Regions from separate parts of the Homo sapiens genome. Here regions 2, 3 and 4 are each linked to region 1. Evidence: promoter capture Hi-C in 16 types of primary human blood cells and fetal thymus (Javierre and others, 2016). All regions are on one chromosome and are shown on one strand. Each heading gives the region's core, a stretch centred on a gene start or on the middle of the fragment in contact. The rest is flanking DNA. Distances are from core to core; before and after follow the strand shown. Region 1 holds the start of RASGEF1A (RasGEF domain family member 1A). Region 2 has its middle 8.6 kb from the start of FXYD4. Region 3 holds the start of LOC124902414 (a long non-coding RNA gene). Region 4 has its middle 9.9 kb from the start of FXYD4.

The links. The method cuts DNA at HindIII sites, captures the fragments that hold promoters and counts their contacts. A CHiCAGO score of 5 or more calls a contact.
Region 2: a contact is called between a fragment that was not itself captured here and the fragment with the promoter of RASGEF1A in region 1, in 1 of 17 cell types (neutrophils). The highest score is 5.9, in neutrophils.
Region 3: a contact is called between a fragment that was not itself captured here and the fragment with the promoter of RASGEF1A in region 1, in 1 of 17 cell types (neutrophils). The highest score is 6.7, in neutrophils.
Region 4: a fragment that was not itself captured here is called in contact with the fragment with the promoter of RASGEF1A in region 1 in 1 of 17 cell types (neutrophils); the score reaches 8.1 in neutrophils.

What each region holds. Positions count from the first base shown.
Region 1 is chr10:43,265,468-43,269,962 of GRCh38, reverse strand. It overlaps RASGEF1A (RasGEF domain family member 1A), which reads left to right and starts at 2,898. Exons shown (of 13, transcript NM_145313.4): 1 at 2,898-3,118. RefSeq lists an enhancer at 3,393-4,268. The HindIII fragment of the contact is 10,296 bases long and covers 1-4,495 here.
Region 2 is chr10:43,377,863-43,382,604 of GRCh38, reverse strand. No RefSeq gene overlaps it. Among named protein-coding and RNA genes, the nearest start is that of FXYD4, 8.6 kb to the right of the region's middle. RefSeq lists a silencer at 1,755-1,804. The HindIII fragment of the contact is 9,118 bases long and covers 1-4,742 here.
Region 3 is chr10:43,333,143-43,337,907 of GRCh38, reverse strand. All of the region lies in intron 2 of LOC105378271 (a long non-coding RNA gene), which reads right to left. LOC124902414 (a long non-coding RNA gene) reads left to right here and starts at 1,500. Exons shown (of 2, transcript XR_007062130.1): 1 at 1,500-1,922; 2 at 2,278-3,394. RefSeq lists an enhancer at 1-313. The HindIII fragment of the contact is 3,753 bases long and covers 1,010-4,762 here.
Region 4 is chr10:43,359,330-43,364,235 of GRCh38, reverse strand. No RefSeq gene overlaps it. Among named protein-coding and RNA genes, the nearest start is that of FXYD4, 9.9 kb to the left of the region's middle. RefSeq lists enhancers at 2,047-2,136, 1,734-2,646. The HindIII fragment of the contact is 3,108 bases long and covers 884-3,991 here.

The DNA.
Region 1 (4,495 bases), core at 1,649-4,148:
AAATCCCCTAATATTTGGAACTAAGCAATGTCCTTCCAAATAAGTCATGGGCCAAAAGAGAAGTCAAAATGGAAATTTAAAAGTCTCTTGAGCAAAATGATAGTGAGAAAAAAACACCAATTGTGAGAGAGAGAGTAAAGCAGTGCTTAACAAGCAGATATATAGCTTTAAGTCCATAGAGTAGGAACGAAAGCTGAAAACCAATGAACCTACCCTCCAACTTCAGAAACTAAAAAGGAAGAAGGAAGGAATGAGAGAAAGACAGTTAATACTCCCCCAAAGGAGAGCTACAAACACAATGAAACTAAGAGCAGAGATTCATGAAATAGAAAGTACAACAGAGAAAGCTGAACAAAGTCAAAAGTTGTTTCTTTAAAAAAAATTATAAAACTGACAAAACCCTAACAAGACTGATCAAAAAAAGAGAGTGAAAAACACAGAGGTCCCCAATATCAGAATCCAAGTGGGACATAGCTACAGATTCTACAAACATCTGCGGGATAATATAAAAGATGTTATAAACAACAATATGAGGATGTCAGAAAATCTGAAAATTTAGAGAAAATGGGCAAAATCCATAAAAAACACAATTTGCAAAAGTTACATAGGAAGAAGCAAATAATCTACATGGTCCTATATATTAAAGAAAATGAACCTGTCATTAAAAACCTTTCTACAGTGAAAATCCAGGTGCAGAGAGCTATTAATATTCTCACTGAATGGGTGTATTCTTATTGAAAATTCATGGAGCACAACTTTATGATTTTTGTCTATGCATGTTATACTTACAAAAAATTATCCTTGGGAGGCTGAGGCGGGAGGATTGCTTGAGCCCAGGAGTTCGAGGCTACAATGAGCTATGATTGTGCCACTGCACTCTAGCCTGGGGGACAGAATGAGACCCTGTCTCAAAAAAAAAAAAAAGCTATAAAAGTTTACTTAAAATGAGTAAACAAATAAATAATATGGGGAGTGGTAGGTGGGCATACAGATGAAACAGAATTGGCCATGTATTGATAATTGTTGAAGTTGGGCCATTGAGTTTATTGTATATACCTTTTTAGCCGTTACTATTATAAGCGTTTAAAATCTTACATAATAAAATATTGTTTGTAAAAAATAGTAAGATCATATTACTTTGTGCAAAACCCTCCACCTCCCTCTGAGTCAAAGCCACAGAGGGCTGATGGCTGGCCAGGCTCTTCGCGATATGGTCCACCTGGCAGCTCCTGCAGGCTCCTCTCTACCACACTCACTCATCTCCACTTGGCCTCCTTCTAAGGCATCCTCCACCTCAGGGCCTTTGCATGTACTGTTCTCTTTGCTGAAAATGTTCATTCCTCGGATTCAGCATAGCTTGCCTCAGTTAGGTCTTAGCTCAGATATGATCCTTTCAGCCAAGATTTCCCTGATCACCCAAAATAAAATCCCCAACCCAGCAGGGAAGGGTGGTGGTGAGAAACTACAGTTCTAGCTACTCAGGAGGCTGAGGCAGGAGGCTCACTAGAGTCAGGAAGTTCCAGGCTGTAGAGCATAGTGATTGCACCTGTGAATAGCCACTGCACTCCAGCCTGGGCCACACAGTGACACCTCCCCTTAAAAAATAAAAAAGAATCCCCCACCCTACAAGCTCCCCTCCCCCTCCCTTCGCTGGCTCCCTCTCCCTGCTGGGCCTCTCTGTGGGATCTGCAGCATCTGACACATGAACTATTTATGTGTATTTTTATTCACTGCCTACTTCCCACAAGAATGCAAACTCCAACCAGACAGAGACATTCACAGCCGAATCCCAGTGCCCCATCTTACACCTGGCATACAGGTGTTCAAGACACAAGGACTAAGTGAGTAAGCAAGGTCCTCAGCCTCTTCAAGGGGTGCTGTGGGGCTCCTCCCCATTTTTTCACACAGACCCCTCCACCTGGGGACATCGTCGCCCCAGACCTGTTTCTCACTGGCCCTCGTCTGACTGCCTGCAAGAGTCACTCTGGGCCACCCTGGGGTCAGGCCACAGGGTGTCCGTTCAAGAGAAGGTGACCCTTCAGAGCGACAGGAAGTTCCAGTGGACGCCAGAAGACCTGTGTCCTGCTTTAGTGGTTCTGAAATCTTTCAAGGTGGCTTTGGAGCCTTGCTCTGCCACTTATAGGCTCTGAGACCCTGCAGGGTAACCGCACTCCCTGTGCATCAGTTTACTAACCTGTCCAATGGGAACAAATCCACCACCGACCTTACAGGGCGATTAAGATGGTTAAGGGGAGTGACCCAAGGGGCCAGGACTTGCCCACAGAAGGGCTTTCACCGTCTGATTCCACTGACAAAAATTTTGCCAGCTCTGCGGGAGTCCCCAGAGGGCCTTTTAAATGCGGTGGCCGCATCGCCTCCTAGCTTGTCTGCTGCCTGATCCTTTTTTTTTTTTTTTTTTTTTTTTTTTTGAGACGGAGTCTCACTCTGTTACCCAGGCTGGAGTGCAGTGGCGCGATCTCGGCTCACTGCAAGCTCCACCTCCCGAGTTTACACCATTCTCCTCCCTCAGCCTCCCGAGTAGCTGGGACTACAGGCGCCCGCCACCACGCCCGGCTAATTTTTTTTTTTGTATTTTTAGTAGAGATGGGGTTTCACCGTGTTAGCCGGGATGGTCTCGATCTCCTGACCTCGTGATCCGCCCGTCTCGGCCTCCCAAAGTGCTGGGATTACAGGCGTGATGCCTTATCCTTTTTAAATGAAAGCCTGGCCGCCCTCTCCCGGCGCCCGCCCTGTCCCAGTGCCCTCTGCTCGAGCCCCGTCCCGCGCCCTACCTCCCCCTGCACCTTTGCCCCGCACCCTCCTCCCTCCGCGTCCCGCGCCCGCCCGCTCCCCCGCTCCCCGCGCTCTCGCGCCCGCTCCGTGCCCGCTCGGCGCTCGCTCCGCGCTCGCTCGTTCGCTCGCTCGCTCGCGCTCCCCGGCGCCGGCTGCGGAGGGAGCTGCTCTGCCCGCAGCTGGCGCAGCGCGGGGGCGGCCGCGGGTGGGCGGGTGCCGCGGGCCCGGGCGCCGAGCATGAGCCGCCGCCGGCGCCGGCCGCGCGCTGCTCGGGGCCCGACTGCGGCGCGAGGGCGGCGCGGGAGCGACGCTGGCCCGGACCGAGGTAGGCAGCGGCCGCGGACCCTCAGTGCCTCGGGGCCCCCGCCCGCGCCTGGGGCCGTGCCCTCCGGTCGCCGGCGCGGGCAGGGCGCGGCGTGCGCGGGCCCGGGGTCCCTCCCGGCGCGGCCGTCGTGGGGCCGGGGCGCGGGCTCCGGGCGCGGGGCGGGGGACGCGCGCGGGGAGGGCGGCCGGGATCCCGGCGCGCGGAGTTGCTGAGAACTCCGCCCCGGGCTGGACGGCGCCAGGACCCCCTGCACCCTCCGCCCCTTCAGGGCACCTGGCGGGCCGGGCCGGGCCGGGCCGGGCGTGGCAGGAGCGCACGCGGCGGGCGGGCGTGGGCACTGCGGGCAGGTTCGCTGCCCGGGGCCTGGCGTGGGGGTGGGGGCTGGGGAATCGGAGGAGCTCAGGGCTGCGCAGTTGGAAGTTTCCATTTGCTCTTCTGCATTCTGGGCCCCGCCGTGGTATCTCACGCCCTTGCTGTTTGGCGAGGAATTGGGGCTTGAGCTCTGCATTTGGGGGAGAGGTCCAGGGCCATGCCAGGTGTCTCCCTCTCCCTGCTGGGCAAGGGTCATTTGAAGGACCACGCTCTCTTTGCCCCAGGCCTTGCCGGCCCCAGGAACGGGGCAGGTGCAGCTGGTTCTGGTCCGAGGGTCGGTGAGTGAGAGGTGGGGGCGGGAGTCCCCTGCTGTGTGTGGAGGGACGCGCTGGCAGGTTCCTGTGCCCTGCATTTCTGGCTGCCTCTGGGTGCTGGACCTGGTGGATATTTACAGAGAGGCCGCTGCCTGCCTCTTGGGAGCCACCTGGGGGCAGAGACCTGGTGGTGGCCGGGGCTCCCTCCCTCCCTGCTCAGAGCAGTGAGCTTCTCCCTGGTTCACCCTCCCCACCACTGCCACTCTTCTCCCACTGTCCTGCGCAGGAAGGGCCCCGATGGCCGTCGGCCGCAGGATCCTGAAACACAGGAGTCAGGCTGGGTGCAGGGGAGCCTCCCAGAGGCCTTGGTTCCCTCTGTCCCCCCAGGGTTCTCCCGCCCCCTCCGGATGCAGTCTTGCCAGCCCAGCCTGTCCACCTCGGTGCCCTGGACTCTAAGCGGCTCTAGGGGGCCTCCAGCCGAAAGGCTACAGGTCTTGATTCGTGAACCACGGGCAGGCTGCAGGCTTCTGAGACTCAGTTTCCCCATCTGTAGACTGACACGGTTTTGATGACCTCTGAGGACATTTCCACCCTGATGTCCAGTGACACTTTGCTTTGGAACCTCAGGACCCCAGCCCAGGAAGGGGAGATCCGGAGCAGGGGGACATGGAGGACCTTGGCTGGATGGCCAGGGACACGTGGGTGGGTTCTCTGCCCCTCCAGCCAGTGTGTGTCCTTAGGGCTGTGGGTG
Region 2 (4,742 bases), core at 373-2,872, 110 kb before region 1:
CATCTGCTACAAATGACAGCATAGGCCCCATCAAAGAGGTACCTGTGTTCCTAAATGATTTCATGTGGCACCTCTGATAAGTCTCAGTAAACACTCAGGCCAAACCCTGAAACTCTGAGTGTTCTGAATCAAGGCCACGTTTTCTGCAGGAGAGGGCTAGTTACCTTTCTTTTCTTTTTCTTTCTTTTTTTTTTTTTGAGACGGAGTCTCGTTCTGTTGCCCAGGCTGGAGTGCAGTGGCGCGATCTCAGCTCACCGTAATCTCCGTCTCCCAGGTTCAAGCGATTCTTCTGTCTCCGCCTCCCAAGTAGCTGGGATTACAGGCACCCACCACCACACCTGGCTAATTTTCATATTTTTAGTAGAGACAGGGTTTCACCATGTTGGCCAGGCTGGTCTCAAACTCCTGACCTCAGGCTATCTGCCCACCTCAGCCTCCCAAAGTGCTGAGATTACAGGCATGAGCCACCATGCCCAGCCTAGTTACCTTTCAAGAAGCTGCCCCCAAGTACTTAGCAGTATGGGAGATAAGTCACCTGCACTAAGACCACCCTCATGATTTGGGTGCTGACAGATGCATCAAGTCTCAAGGCATCTCAGTTTTATTATCAGTTTTTGTTTTTTTAAAAGAATTGGGCTGGGCGCGGTGGTTCACACCTATAATCTCAGCACTTTGGGAGGACGAGGCGGGCGGATCACCTGAGGTCAGGAGTTCCAGACCATCCTGGCCAACATGGTGAAATCCCATCTCTACTAAAATTACAAAAATTAGCTGGGCGTGGGGGCACACGCCTGTAGTCCTAGCTACTCAGGAGGCTGAGGCAGGAGAATTCTTGAACCCAGGAGGCGGAGGGTGCAGTGAGCCGAGATCATGCCACTGCACTCCAGCCTGGTGACAGAGCGAGACTCCGTCTCTAAAAAAAAAAAAAAAAAAAAAAGGAATCTTACTCTGTTGCCCATGCTAAAGAGCTAAAGAGCAGTGGTGAGATGATAGCTCTCTCTTTTTTTTTTTTTTTTTTTTTTTGAGACTGGGCCTTGCTCTGTCACCCAGGCTCGAGTGCAGTGGCATGATCGCGATCACGGCTCACTGCAGCCTCAAACTCTCAAGTGATCCAACTGCCTCATCCTAAGTAGCTGGGACTACAGGCATGCACCACCACACCCAGCCTAACACTTTTTTTTTCTTTTTTTTGAGACGGAGTCTCACTCTATTGCCCAGGTTGGAATGCAGTGCACCTCTTCCTCTTGGGTTTAAGTGATTCATCTGCTTCAGCCTCCCGAGTAGCTGGGATTATAGGCGCCTGCCATCACACCTGGCTAATTTTGTATTTTTAGTAGAGACAGGGTTTCACCATGTTGGTCAGGCTGGTCTCGAACCCCTAACCTTAGATGATCCACCTGCCTCGGCTTCCCAAAGTTTTGGGATTACAGGTGTGAGCCACCGTGCCCGGTCCTAACATTCTCGAAATAACAAAACTATAGAGATAGAGGACAGTTTAGTGGTTGCCAGAGGTTAGGCCTAGGGGGCCTAAGTAGGGAGGGAAATGGGTTTGGCTATAAAAGAGGAGCATGAGGGATCCTGGTAATGAACTGGTCCAGATCTTGACTGTGGTGGTCACAGGCATCACAGGTGATAAAGTTGCACAGAACTAAACGTACATACACACACAAATGAGTGATGTAACACTGGTGAAATCTCAGTAAGGCCAATGCTTCTAGCAGTTTCAATATTCTGCTGTGATATAGTGTACTATAGCTATGCAAGAAGTTGCCACTGGGGGAAACTGGCTTATCTCTCCCCATTATTTTTTACAATTGCATGTGAATCTACAATTATCTTAAATGTAAGGTTTTTTTGTTTTGTTTTGTTTTAGTTTGTTTTGTTTTAGTTGTTTTAGTTTGTTTTGTTTTAGTTTGTTTTGTTTTAGTTGTTTTAGTTTTGTTTTAGTTTGTTTTGTTTTAGTTGAGAAAAAAGATGCAGGCCAGGTGCTGTGGCTCACGCCTGTAGTCCCAGCATTTTGGGAGGCTGAGGTGGGAGGATTGCTTGAACGCAGGAGTTCCAGACCAGCCTAGGCAACACAGTGAGAGCCCATCTCTACATAAAAAAAATTAGCTGGGCCAGGTGCAGTGGCTCTTGCCTGTAATCCCAGCACTTTGGGAGGCTGAGGTGGGTGGATCACCTGAGGCTGGGAGTTCGAGACCAGCCTGACCAACATGGAAAAACCCCGTCTCTACTAAAAAAAAAAAACAAAATTAGCCAGGCATGGTGGCACATGCCTGTAATCCCAGCTAATCAGGAGGCTGAGGTAGGAGAATCACTTGAACCCAGGGGGCAGAGGTTGTGGTGAGCCGAGATCATGCCATTGCACTCCAGCCTGGGCAACAAGAGCGAAACTCCATCTCAAAAGAAAAAATTTGCTGGGCATAGTGACACGCGCCTGTGGTCCTACCTAATCTGGAGGCTGAAGTGGGAAGATTGCTTTAGCCTGGGAGGTTGAGGCTGCCATGAGCTGTAATCATGCTACTGCACTCCAGCCTGGGTGAGAGAGTGAGACCCAGTTTTAAGAAAAAAAAGAAGAAAATAAAAAAAATACAGAAATTAAAAAAAGAGAGCTGGGTGCCATGGCTCACGCCTGTATTCCTAGCACTTTGGGAGGCTTAAGCTCAGGAGTTTGAGACTAGCCTGGGCAACATGACGAGACTTCATCTCTACAAAAAATATAGCCGGGTGTGGTGGCATGTGCCTGTAGTTCCAGCTACTTGGGAGGCTGAAGCAGAGGTTGCAGTGAGATGAGATTGCATCACTGCACCCCAGCCTGGGCGACAGAGCCAGACTTTGTCTCAAAAAAAAAAAAAAAAAAAAGTATTATTTTAAATCAGAATAATAAGTCCTTTCTCTAGTCCTCACCTTTGGGTTCTGAAACAATACCTTTTTTTTTTTTTTTTTGAGACCGAGTCTCACTCTGTTGCCAGGCTGGAGTGCAATGGCACGATCTCAGCTCATTGCAACCTCCGCCTCCCGGATTCAAGCAATTCTCCTGCCTCAGCCTCCTGAGTAGCTGGGATTACAGACATGTGCCACCACGCCCAGCTAATTTTCTATTTTTACTAGACACGGGGTTTCACCATGTTGGTCAGGCTGGTCCCGACCTCAGGTGATCTGCCCGCCTCAGCCTCCCAAAGTGCTTGGATTACAGGCTTGAGCCACTGTGCCTGGCAATAGCCTGAGTTCTGATTCCAAACTCACAAGGCCAACTCCCAGGTACAAGAGGGAAAAGATGATCTGAAAGACTAGAGAACAATTTTTTTTTTTTTGCAAACTTTTAAACTTGATTATTTTGGGGTGCTAGGTTAGAAGTTGGTTTACTTTGTGAGTAAATGTCTCTGTGATGTTTGTTTTCTTTCTTTCTTTTTTTTTTTTTTTGGAGACAGAGTCTCGGTCTGTCACCCAGGCTGGAGTGCAGTGGTGCGATCTCGGCTCACTGCAACCTCCACATCCTGGGTTCAAGTGATCCTCCCACCTTAGCCTCCTGAGTAGCTAGGATTACAGGCATGAGCCACTGCACCCGGCCAATTTTTGTATTTTTAGTAGTGACAGGGTTTCACCATGTTGGCCAGGCTGCTCCTGAACTCTGGACCTCAAAATGATCCTCCCACCTCGGCCTCCCAAAGTGCTGGGATTACAGGCGTGAGCCACTGAACCCAGCCCTGAAAAATAAAAGATTTTTAAAATAAAAAAGTGAGGAAGGATGTATAGTCACCCAGCAGCACAGTCCCTGGGCTCTGTCTTTGACAATGATAAACATCGGGAAGGCAACAGGCCCCAGTCCTTTGGAAACAGGGCTCAGGAGCAGGACACCAGGGTTGGAGGCTGGCTGTGGAATTCGTTAGCCCATGAGAACCTCTGGGTGCCTCCTCTCCTCTAACCTAACCCTAACCCTAATGTCATCCGCATCACATAGGTTGCTAGGAAAATTTGACATGTGTGAAGTGTTTACAGTGGTGTCTGTCACTCAGTAAATCCCCAATTGAGTGGAAATGACACTTTGCTTTCTCTGGTCCCCCCTACCTCTCCCCACAGCCCCTCAACTAGGAGAGGATGACAAGGGGAAATCACCCACCAGCTCTGAAACAGGCCCCAGGAAGGGGTCTCTGACGCACAGCCAGTAATCCCACAAAGGGAAGCCTGGAGAGCCTCTGTCATGCCCTAGTCAGCCCATTCCTCACTCCCAGAAGGGAGAGAGGAGAGCTCGTTTCCCCTGGGAACCAGGGTCCCAACTCCAGGGCCTGGCCTTGTCCATCTGGGGCTAACACTGACTCCATCCTCCACTGTCATCCAGACCTGGCCTCCCATCAGTTTCTGACTCCTCCCACCATGATTTTCCCAGGTTCCATGAGCGAGAGCCGTCACCCTCCACATCAGAGAGATAAGCCTGTCACTGGACAGTCACACCTAGGGACTCGTGTGGTGGGGCCTCCTACATAAGTGGTCACTTATAGGACTTGGGGGAACTGTGACACCTGTCCAGGAGAAGTTTAAATGAAGCAGCATGAGAGCTTGAAAGAAGAGCGGCAGGTCTCCACCACGACGTGGCCCCAGGATACATGTGAAGGTGGAGGTGGGTGGCTGTCACGTCCAGAAACCTCTGCTCCCCAGTGGGGCACTGGGGTTGGAAGTTGAGGCTGCATCTCTTGTCAGGGTCATGGGGCCACCATGCAAGGACAGGGTTTGCTAGGATTTCA
Region 3 (4,765 bases), core at 1,637-4,136, 68 kb before region 1:
CAAAGGTCTTTGCATCATAGACAATGTAAAGGATTAAGTGCTGTGCTTTTAGATATGCATACACATAAACATCTCAATGCTTTACAAGCAGTATTGCTGCCCGCAGGTCCCACCTCCAGCCCTAAGGCGGTTTTTCCCTATCTCAGTAGATGGAGCATTACAATCGGGTTTTATACCGAGACATTCCATTGCCCGGGGACAGGCAGGAGACAGCTGCCTTCCTCTTGTCTCAACTGCAAGAGGCATTCCTTCCTCTTTTACTAATCCTCCTCAGCACAGACCCTTTACGGGTGTCGGGCTGGGGGACAGTCAGGTCTTTCCCTTCCCACGAGGCCATATTTCAGACTATCACATGGGGAGAAACCTTGGACAATACCTGGCTTTCCTAGGCAGAGGTCCCTGCGGCCTTCCGCAGTGTTTGTGTCCCTGGGTACTTGAGATTAGGGAGTGGTGATGACTCTTAAGGAGCATGCTGCCTTCAAGCATCTGTTTAACAAAGCACATCTTGCACCGCCCTTAATCCATTTAACTCTGAGTTGACACAGCACATGTTTCAGAGAGCACGGGGTTGGGGGTAAGGTTATAGATTAACAGAATCTCAAGGCAGAAGAATTTTTCTTGGCACAGAACAAAATGGAATCTCCTATGTCTACTTCTTTCTACACAGACACAGTAACAATCTGATCTCTCTTGCTTTTCCCCACATGCCATAGCTCAGTTTTCTGAGAGGTCCTGGGGATGGACGTCAATAAGGCCTGGAGTTGGATGGGTGCTGCTGAGACCATCGGTTAGAGAAAGACAGTGAAAGGCTAAGCATGATTCACCACCAATCACACCATAGCACAGTGTTGGTCACGGGGCCTTGAGGCTGCAGCTAAAGAGACTATTTCCTGCTACTGGAGGGCTAAAAATGCTGAGAATTGAGCCCAGGGCATAATTAGAGAAAATTATGAACTCTCAGTCCTGGTCAGTTTAGCTCCCTCTGTGGGGACAGAGGCTCCCTGAAGCTTGGAATGGGTTCGTCTGAAGGGAAGCACCCAGGTGCCCAGCCGCCACTGACTTGCAAGGCAATGGCCACCCTCAGGGCCAGCCACCTGCTCCTGGTCACACCCGAACTTGAGACTACACTTGGCTGGGGAGGCATTGGGCTTAGTAAGAAAGGGCAGGGACCAAATTCTAAAGAAGCTGCAGGACTTGGCCAAGGTGACTAGGAAGAGCGAGTCAGAGAGAGTTGTGCGTGTGCACGTGTGTGTGGCAGGCCTGAGGGTCCTGGGACAAGGTAGGGAGGGGGTAGAACATAAAGTTGGATAAAGTAGAGTTTATTTTTATTTATTTATTTACTTATTTATTTGAGACAGGGTCTTGCTCTGTTGCCCAGGCTGGAGTGCAGTGGTGCGATCATGGCTCACTGCAGCCTTGACTTCAAAGCAGTCCTTCCACCTCAGCCTCCTGAGTTGCTGGGGCTACAGGCATGTGCCAGCATCACGGGCTAACTTTTTCTATTTTTTGTAGAGATGGGGGTCTCACTATGTTGCCCAGGCTGCTGTGAGAACACTCTTCTAAGATACAGGATATAACATCCTAGAAAGAGCCCAGGAGGTGGGGCCAACATGCTGCCTGTGTAGCCCCTGGAGGCTTGGAGAAAGCATGGCCCTCTCTAAGCAGAGGTGCCAACATTGCTGTGGCAGCCAGGGACATCCGACCTTCCCAGAGCTGTGGAGGTGGCGAATTGAGCAGGTTATTCCTGTGGCCAAGGAGGAGAACAGCCCACAAAGTCATTGCTTAATCTACACAACCAAAAGAAATCCAAGATGGGAGATGGAGGCTGAGGGCAGCTACCCCAGTGAAAAACTTCAGACCAGACCCCAGTGCCTGAAGGAGAGGCTGGGTTTCCAGGAGGAACAACTCCTTCACGGCAGTGAGTGAGTGGTCATGATTCCTCAGTTCTTCCCCAGTGGCACTTATGGCTATTTACTAGAGTTGCCACATACTAGGTAAAGAGGAATTTAAACATTTCAAGTGCTGCTAGACACAGAATCCATCTTGGCATTGATACCCAGGGACCCAAAGCCTTATTGTGGTCCCCTGGTAGTGTTGGGGCTATATGAGAGTTAGGCAATAGAGTTTTGACCCAGGCCCAACTCACTGTAGGTCCACTGCATTCAGGAATCCACCCAGAGGTCCCTTTCCCAGGTTCTATGCATGATTCAATAGACGTATCTGGTGTTTTGAGAGCAGCCACATTGATTTCTTTTTTTTCTTTTCTTTTTTTTTTAGACGGAGTTTCATACTTGTTGCCCAGGCTGGAGTGCAATGGCACAATCTTGGCTCACCACAAACTCTGCCTCCCAGATTCAAGTGAGCTCTGTCACCCACGCTAGAGTGCAGTGGCATGATCGTAGCGTACTGCAACCTCCACCTCCTGGGCGCAAGAAATGCTCCCACCTCAGCCTCCTGAGTAGCTGGGACTACAGGTGTGCACCACCACGCCCGGCTACACCACGCCTGGTCTTGAATTCCTGGGCTCAAGGAGTCCTCTTGCCTCAGGCTACCAAAGTGCTGGGATTATAGGTGACAGCCACCGCACTCGGCCAAAATTGGAAGAATATATATATATATATACCCGGTGAAATAATCACCACAATCAAAAAAATGACTACATCCATCACTGAAAACTTTCCTTATGCCCTTCTGTGATCCTTTTCTCCCTCCCCCAAGGACCCCTTGGAGAGGCAAGGCAATGCCACAGGCAAGCACTGATCTGCTTTCTGTTTGATTCATTTGCGATTTCTAGAATTTTATATAGATGGAATCATACAATGTGTACTCTTTTGTCTGGCTTCTTTCCATTAGCATAATTATTTTGAGATTTATCTGTAGTGATGTGAATATCAATAGTTTATTATTATTTTTTCTTTTTTTCTTTTTTAGACAGGGTCTTGCTCTGTCACCCAGGTTGGAGTGCAGTTCATTCTTTTAAAATTGCTAAACAGTATTCCATAGCATGGATGTGCCATAATTTATGCATTCTTCTTTTTTTTTTTTTTTTGCCCCCGAGATGGAGTCTTGCTCTGTTGCCCAGTGGCTCTATCTCAGCTCACTGCAACCTCCGCCTCCCGGGTTTAATCGATACTCCTGCCTCAGCCTCCCGAGTAGCTGGGATTACAGGCACATGCCACCATGTGCCGCTAATTTTTGTATTTTTAGTAGAGGTGGAGTTTCACCATGTTGGCCAGACTGGTCTTGAACTCCTGACCTCATGATCCGCCCACCTCAGCCTCCCAAAGTGCTGGGACTACAGGGATGAGCCACTGTGCCTGGCTGCATTCTTCTGTTGATGGACACTTGGGTTGTTTCCAGTTTCTAACTATTACCAATAAAGTGTCTATACATATTACTGTGCAGGTCTTGTGTGGACTATGTTTTCATGAAACCTGGGTAAATCCCTACGAGTGAAGTGACTGAGTCATATGGCAGGTTTAACTTTTTTATTTTTGGAAACAGGGTCTTGCAGGCCAGGCGCGTGGCTCACGCCTGTAATCCCAGCACTTTGGGAGGCTGAGGTGGGTGGATCACCTGAGGTCAAGAGTTCAAGACTAGCCTGCCAACATGGTGAAACCCCATCTCTACTAAAATACAAAAATTAGCACATTGTGGTGGCACGTACCTGTAATCCTAGTTACTTGGGAGGCTGAGACAGGAGAATCGCTTGAACCTGGGAGGTGGAAGTTGCAGTGAGTGGAGATTGTGCCACTGCACTCCAGCCTGGTTGACAGAGCCTGGGTGACATGGCAAAACAGGGTCTCGCCATGTTACCCAGGCTAGTCTCTAACTCCTGGGCTGGGCTCAAGCCATCCACCCTCCTCCACCTCCCAAAGCCCAAAGTATTAGGTGTGAGCCACCATCCCTGGCTGTATGCTTAACTTCATAAGAACCTGCCAAACTGTCTTCCGAAATGGTTGTGCCATTTCACATTCCCACCAGCAGTGCATGAATGTCCCAGTTTCTTCACACCCTCACTACCACTTGCCATGGTGAGTCTCTTTGGTTGTAGCCATCCTAGTGGGTGTGTCGCGGTGTCTCTTCATGGTTTCAATGAGTGTTTCCCTAATGACTAATGATGTTGAGCATCTTTTCCTGTGCTTATTTGCCATCAGCTTATCTTCTTTGCTGAGGTGATTCTCCAAATCTTTTATCCATTTTATTTATTTATTTATTTATTTTTGAGACAGAGTCTTGCTTTGTCACCCAGGCTGGAGTGCATCGTCGCAATCTCAGCTCACTGCAACCTCTGCCTCCCGGGTTCAAGCAATTCTCCTGCCTCAGCTTCCCAAGTAGCTGGGATCACAGTTGCGTGCCACCACACCCGGTTAATTTTTGTATTTTTAGTAGAGATGGGGTTTCACCATGTTGGTCAGGCTGGTCTCGAACTCCTGACCTTGTGATCTGCCTGCCTTGGCATCCCAAAGTGCTGGGATTACAGGCGTGAGCCACCGTGCCCGGCCTACCCATTTTTTTTTAAAAAAAAAACAGAAACAAAAATGCTACAGCGCAAGTGGCTGTTCACAGCCTTCCCTTTCCTTTGTGTCATGAGGAGGTGCGAGTGTTTGGCTGCTCCTTATGGGGCCTTTGCTGTGGGAGTGGGCAGAGATGGGAAGAGCCCAGGCTGATCCATGTTAGAACAGACCTGGGAGTTTTTGCCGGAAATCCAGCAGTCCTGTTGGAGGGGATGGGAGGGGAGAGGAAGAGAAGGCTGGAAGCTTAG
Region 4 (4,906 bases), core at 1,188-3,687, 95 kb before region 1:
GGTGTTGCTGCAGATTGAGTGTGTGGCCAGAAATTGGGGGCCTCTCAGAGGGCACACAGTGCTAAGGCATGGTACACACCGTGGATGAGGTGATGTACCATTGTGCTTGCAGAAGGTACACTCAAAGACCTGGATTCCCAATCTCTGGATCTGTCCAAGCCTCAACTTGTCCCCTGCCTTGGATGGGTATCAATACCACCTGGCTGAGGTGAAGTTTTCTTTCCACCTGTTAAAGGTTATAATACCTCACAGCAATAGGAATAGGAATGGTGGATCCCTGAAGAGGGCAGAAGTTGTTGCGGGGTGGGGATGGGGGCAGGCAAAAATGCTAGGGCCTTCTGGAGAAGTGCATCTGAGGTTCCTTTTGGAGACCTTCCAAAGCAAAGGTGGCTTTTGGGACTTACAGGACCCCTTTCCTACGAATGCCTGCTTTCTTGAGGCTTAGTCTCCGGCTTAGCCTGATGGGCCAGAACTCAGCTGAGAAGGCTGGAAACTTGGGCGGAGCAGGCTGCCCTGTGCTCGCTACCAGGGCAGTGTGACCTTAGCAAGACATTTCTCTTCTCTGGAACAGTTTCCCTCTGGGGTCTCTCTCATGGTGGCCCCCTTTATCCTAGGTTACCAATCTTACCATGTATGTCTCAGGGCGCTTCCCAACTACAGTAACAGCTCTTGTAAACTGAGCAGTCACTCAACTGAGCCCTGTCTTCTGAGTTCATGCAGCATAATCAGATTCAAAGTAGACTCAGTCACAGTTCCCATTTTACGGATGAGCAAACAGGCAGAAAGAGGTAAGTCGGGGGCGCACGCAGCAAGTTAACAGCCTGAATTTGACTCCAAAGCTTGTGCTGTGAACGGTGCTTCTGAATCTTGAGGTTAACAAGCTTTCTTCACAACCTGTCCTGGGAGGGATTAATTCCACAAATGTGTACTGAAGGCTGAGCGTGGACCACCCCCTGCCCCTTGCTGCCTGTGCGTGGTCATTTTTTTTTTTTTTTTTTTTGAGACGGAGTCTTGCTCTGTTGTTGTCAGGCTGGAGTGCAGAGGCGCAATCTCGGCTCACTGCAACTTCTGCCTCCCAGGTTCAAGCGATTCTCCTGCCTCAGCCTCCCAAGTAGCAGGGGCTACAGGCGCGCGCCACCACGCCCGGCTAATTTTTAGTAGAGATGGGGTTTCACCATGTTGGCCAGGATGGTTCTCCATCTCTTGACTTGGTGGTCCACCCAACTCGTCCTCCCAAAGTGCTGGGATTACAGGCGCAAGCTACCGCACCCAGCTTAGACTGTCTGTTTTGAGGCAGAGGAGGAAATCCGAGGTCCCTTGCCCCGAGGCCTTTCCCAGCTGTCTCCACGAGGACTACTGGACTCCCGCCTGGACCCCCGCCCTGTGAGTGTCCCCTGCTCTTCCCGTCTCTCCGCAGATTCCTCGGGCCCATGGATGTGGAGCCCACTCCCTTGGAGGGCCCTGGGGAGGGAGGCAGCCGACTCCGCTCACCCCCTGCCTGTGCTAGGCAGGCGAGCAGCGTCAGGCGCGGCTGCTGTCCTAGGGCTCCGCCTTAGGCTGACTCCCGCGTGTAGGGCAGAGATGGGACAGGGCCCTTAGCGCAGGGGGCTTTGGGCCCTGAGGACAAGGCGGCACGGAAATGGGGCGGAGATCTCCCCGGCAGCGACGACCCTCGGGACTCTAAAAGTTAGGCCCACTTAGGCCGCCAGAAACGACCCCACGGCCTCTGGGAGGCCTTCCCGCAAGGGGCCGCGAGAGAGCCAGAGGAAGGAGGACTGCGCTGGCCGCCAGCCAATCAGCACCAAGGAATGTCTATGAGGCTGGCTCGCGGGAGAAACCGCCAGTGAGGCGAGGGCCCAGGAGGTGTGGGCGGGGCTTTCCTCCGCGGAAGTGGTCCCGACCCCCTTCGCGTGGATTGGCTGCTCCCACTCACCTGCAAGCCCCTGCTCTACCGCGCTTGCGCAGTCGTTTTCCGTGTAACGCGCGTCTCGGGTTACTTCTTTGCTTGAGTCTCAGTCCATTTGTTTACCCATATGTGCTGCGCTATGTCGTGATGGTGGCGGTCTTCGGTAACGGGGACCTTGGAGGCTGGGAGGGATAACTGGACGTGAAGGGCCAGCACTGGGGGCGAGCTCAGGGCGGTCAGGGCGGAGGGATGGGCGCGAAGAGTGAGGCCTGCAACCCCGCAGGGGGCCCGGGACCCTGGGGAGTTTCCTGCTGGGGTGAGACAGTTGTTAGGTTTGCATTTCAGAACGTTCTGGTAGGGGCTGTGTAGCAGGGTGAGAATGAAGACCTGTGCAAGAAGAGAAGCCGAAAGGGTTCAAGATGGTAGGCAAAGTCATTTGTCATCAACGTTTGCTCGTTCCGCACCTGGGAGAACGCGAGTGCTTTCCTTCTACTGCACAGGTCACCTCTTAGCCCCCTGTTGCAGCTCCTACTCATGCTTCTCCTATACCAGACTTCTTAGCTCTTGGGCACCTCCCTTTCATTTCCTGCAGGCACTTCACAGTCAACAACTGTTAAACTTTTCCGTTCCCCCACCATCTCTGACCTTTCAGAATTTCCCATCTCAGGTGGGTCTCTTTCCCACGTGGTCCCACAGGCCACCACTAAACCCAGTCATATGGAGATATCTGCTGAAATGTGTGCCAGCTCCTCAGGATATGACCCCCTCAAGGACATGGACAGTGGTCCAAAGTCACAGCGCTCAGCATACAGTCTGACTCCACCAAAGGGAAGTTAGGCAACTCGGTTCCCTGTCCCCCCCGCCCCCCCAGTGAGAGCCCATCCTTCTAGTTCTTCCATATCTCACGTATTCAATCTTTTCTCTCCATCCTAATTCTCATCCTCTCCCAAGGACCACTGTGAGCCATTTCCACTCTGTCCAATTCAACAATTGCCTCACCTGGGAAGCCACCTTTCCTGTTCACCTGCCTCCCCTCTGGGAGGCCCACCTTTCCCAAACCCCACATCACAGGTATGGGTGTATCTGTCTTGACCACTCACCTCCCTTTTCTCCCAGGGCTGTGATTTCAGGTCACTCAGCTTCCTGTCCCAGAGACCTTGGCACATGGATGGAATTCATTGTGGGAACTGGATGGATGTGTGAATTAACTATTGAGTAAAATGATTGATAAATCACTTGAGTAGAAAGGGCGCCATGGCTCACGCCTGTAATCCCAGCACTGGGAGGCCTAGGCAGGTGGATCCCTTGAACCCAGGACTTCGAGACCAGCCTGGGCAAAATGACAAGACCCCGTCTCAATAAAAATAAATAAATTGGCCGGGCGCGGTGGCTCACGCCTGTAATCCCAGCACTTTGGGAGGCTGAGGCTGGTGGATCATGAGGTCAAGAGACCGAGACCATCCTGGCCAACATGGTGAAACCCCGTCTCTACTAAAAATACAAAAACTAGCTGGGCGTGGTGGCGCACCTGTAATCCCAGCTCCTCGGGAGGCTGAGGCAGGAGAACTGCTTGAACCCGGGAGGCGGAGGTTGCAGTTAGCTGAGATCGCGCCACTGCACTCCAGCCTGGCGACAGAGCGAGACTCTGTCTCAAAAATAAATAAAATAACTGAGTAATATTTGGGTGGATGGATACACTTTTGGATGGATAATTAGGTCTTAACCCCCTCAGCAGGCTCTGAGATTTGGCTGCTCCCTCCTGGAAACTCACCTCTCTGACCTCTCTCCTTAGCTGGAGACCACCAGGCCCACTGCCTGCCTCCTGTCTCCACATGCATGTCTCATAGTTTGCTGAAACTTGACATTTCCTGAAATAAATACTTGGTTTCTTCTTTAAACCACCCCGCCTACTCTCTGTGCTCCATCCAAGTGGTAAAGCCGAAGGCCTGAGCATCATCCTAGACTTTATTTGCCTCCAAATCCCCATAACCAATCAAACAATTCTTGTCCATTCTGCCTCCTAAACAGCTCTGTGACTCACCCCTTTCTGTCCTCCTGTGACACACGTAAAGTGCAGTACAAGCTTTGGCATTCTAGGCCCCGCTTCAATCCCTTCTTGGGCAGTCTCCCTCAGCCCTCTCTTGCTGAACCCTAGAAGCTCCTGCTATTTCGTTTCTGGGCCACTCTTCTATTCCCGTATTTATGTAATAGAGTAGTCTTTGAATGTTTGCTCTCATTTCTGAAAAACCACATATCCATTCCACAGTTTTATGTTGCTAAAGTTTCTCATCATAAGCTCAAATAGTTGCAAAAGATACAATTTCTGGTATGTTTTAATATTTATATTTTAAAGTAAAATGGCTACATGAGTTGTAATATATCTAGTGGAATCTGAACACCATACATACCATTTTTTTTTGAGATGGAGTTTCGCTCTTGTTGCACCATACTATTTTTATTCCAAATCTCCATTTGAAGATTTACTTAACTCTTGTTTAATATTAGTTACTCCATATTGCCGCCTCCTTTTTTTTTTTTTTGGCCTGAGTTGAGTCTATTTCCTTCCTCTGTCACCCACCGAACTTAACCTAAGTAATATATTTTTATTCTTGGAAGTCTTCTATTTTTGAGACTGAGTCTTGCTCTGTCGCCCAGGCTGGAGTACAGTGGTGCGATCTCGGCTGACTACAACCTCCACCTCCCTGGCTCAAGCAATTCCCCTGCCTTGCTTCAGCCTCCTGAATAGCCGAACATCACCATGTCCGGCTAATTTTTTTGTATTTTTTGTAGAGATGGGGTTTCACGATGTTGGCCAGACTGGTCTCAAACTCCTGACTTCAGCCAATGTGCCCATCTGGGCCTCCCAAAGTGCTGGGATTACAGGCGTGAGCCACCGCACCCGGCCATTCTTGGAAGTCTTTTACTGGCCACATGTTGAAACACTCCTCTTCCTTTCTGTGTCTCCCTGGCACATCACCTGATGCCTGCAGTCACTGAGAG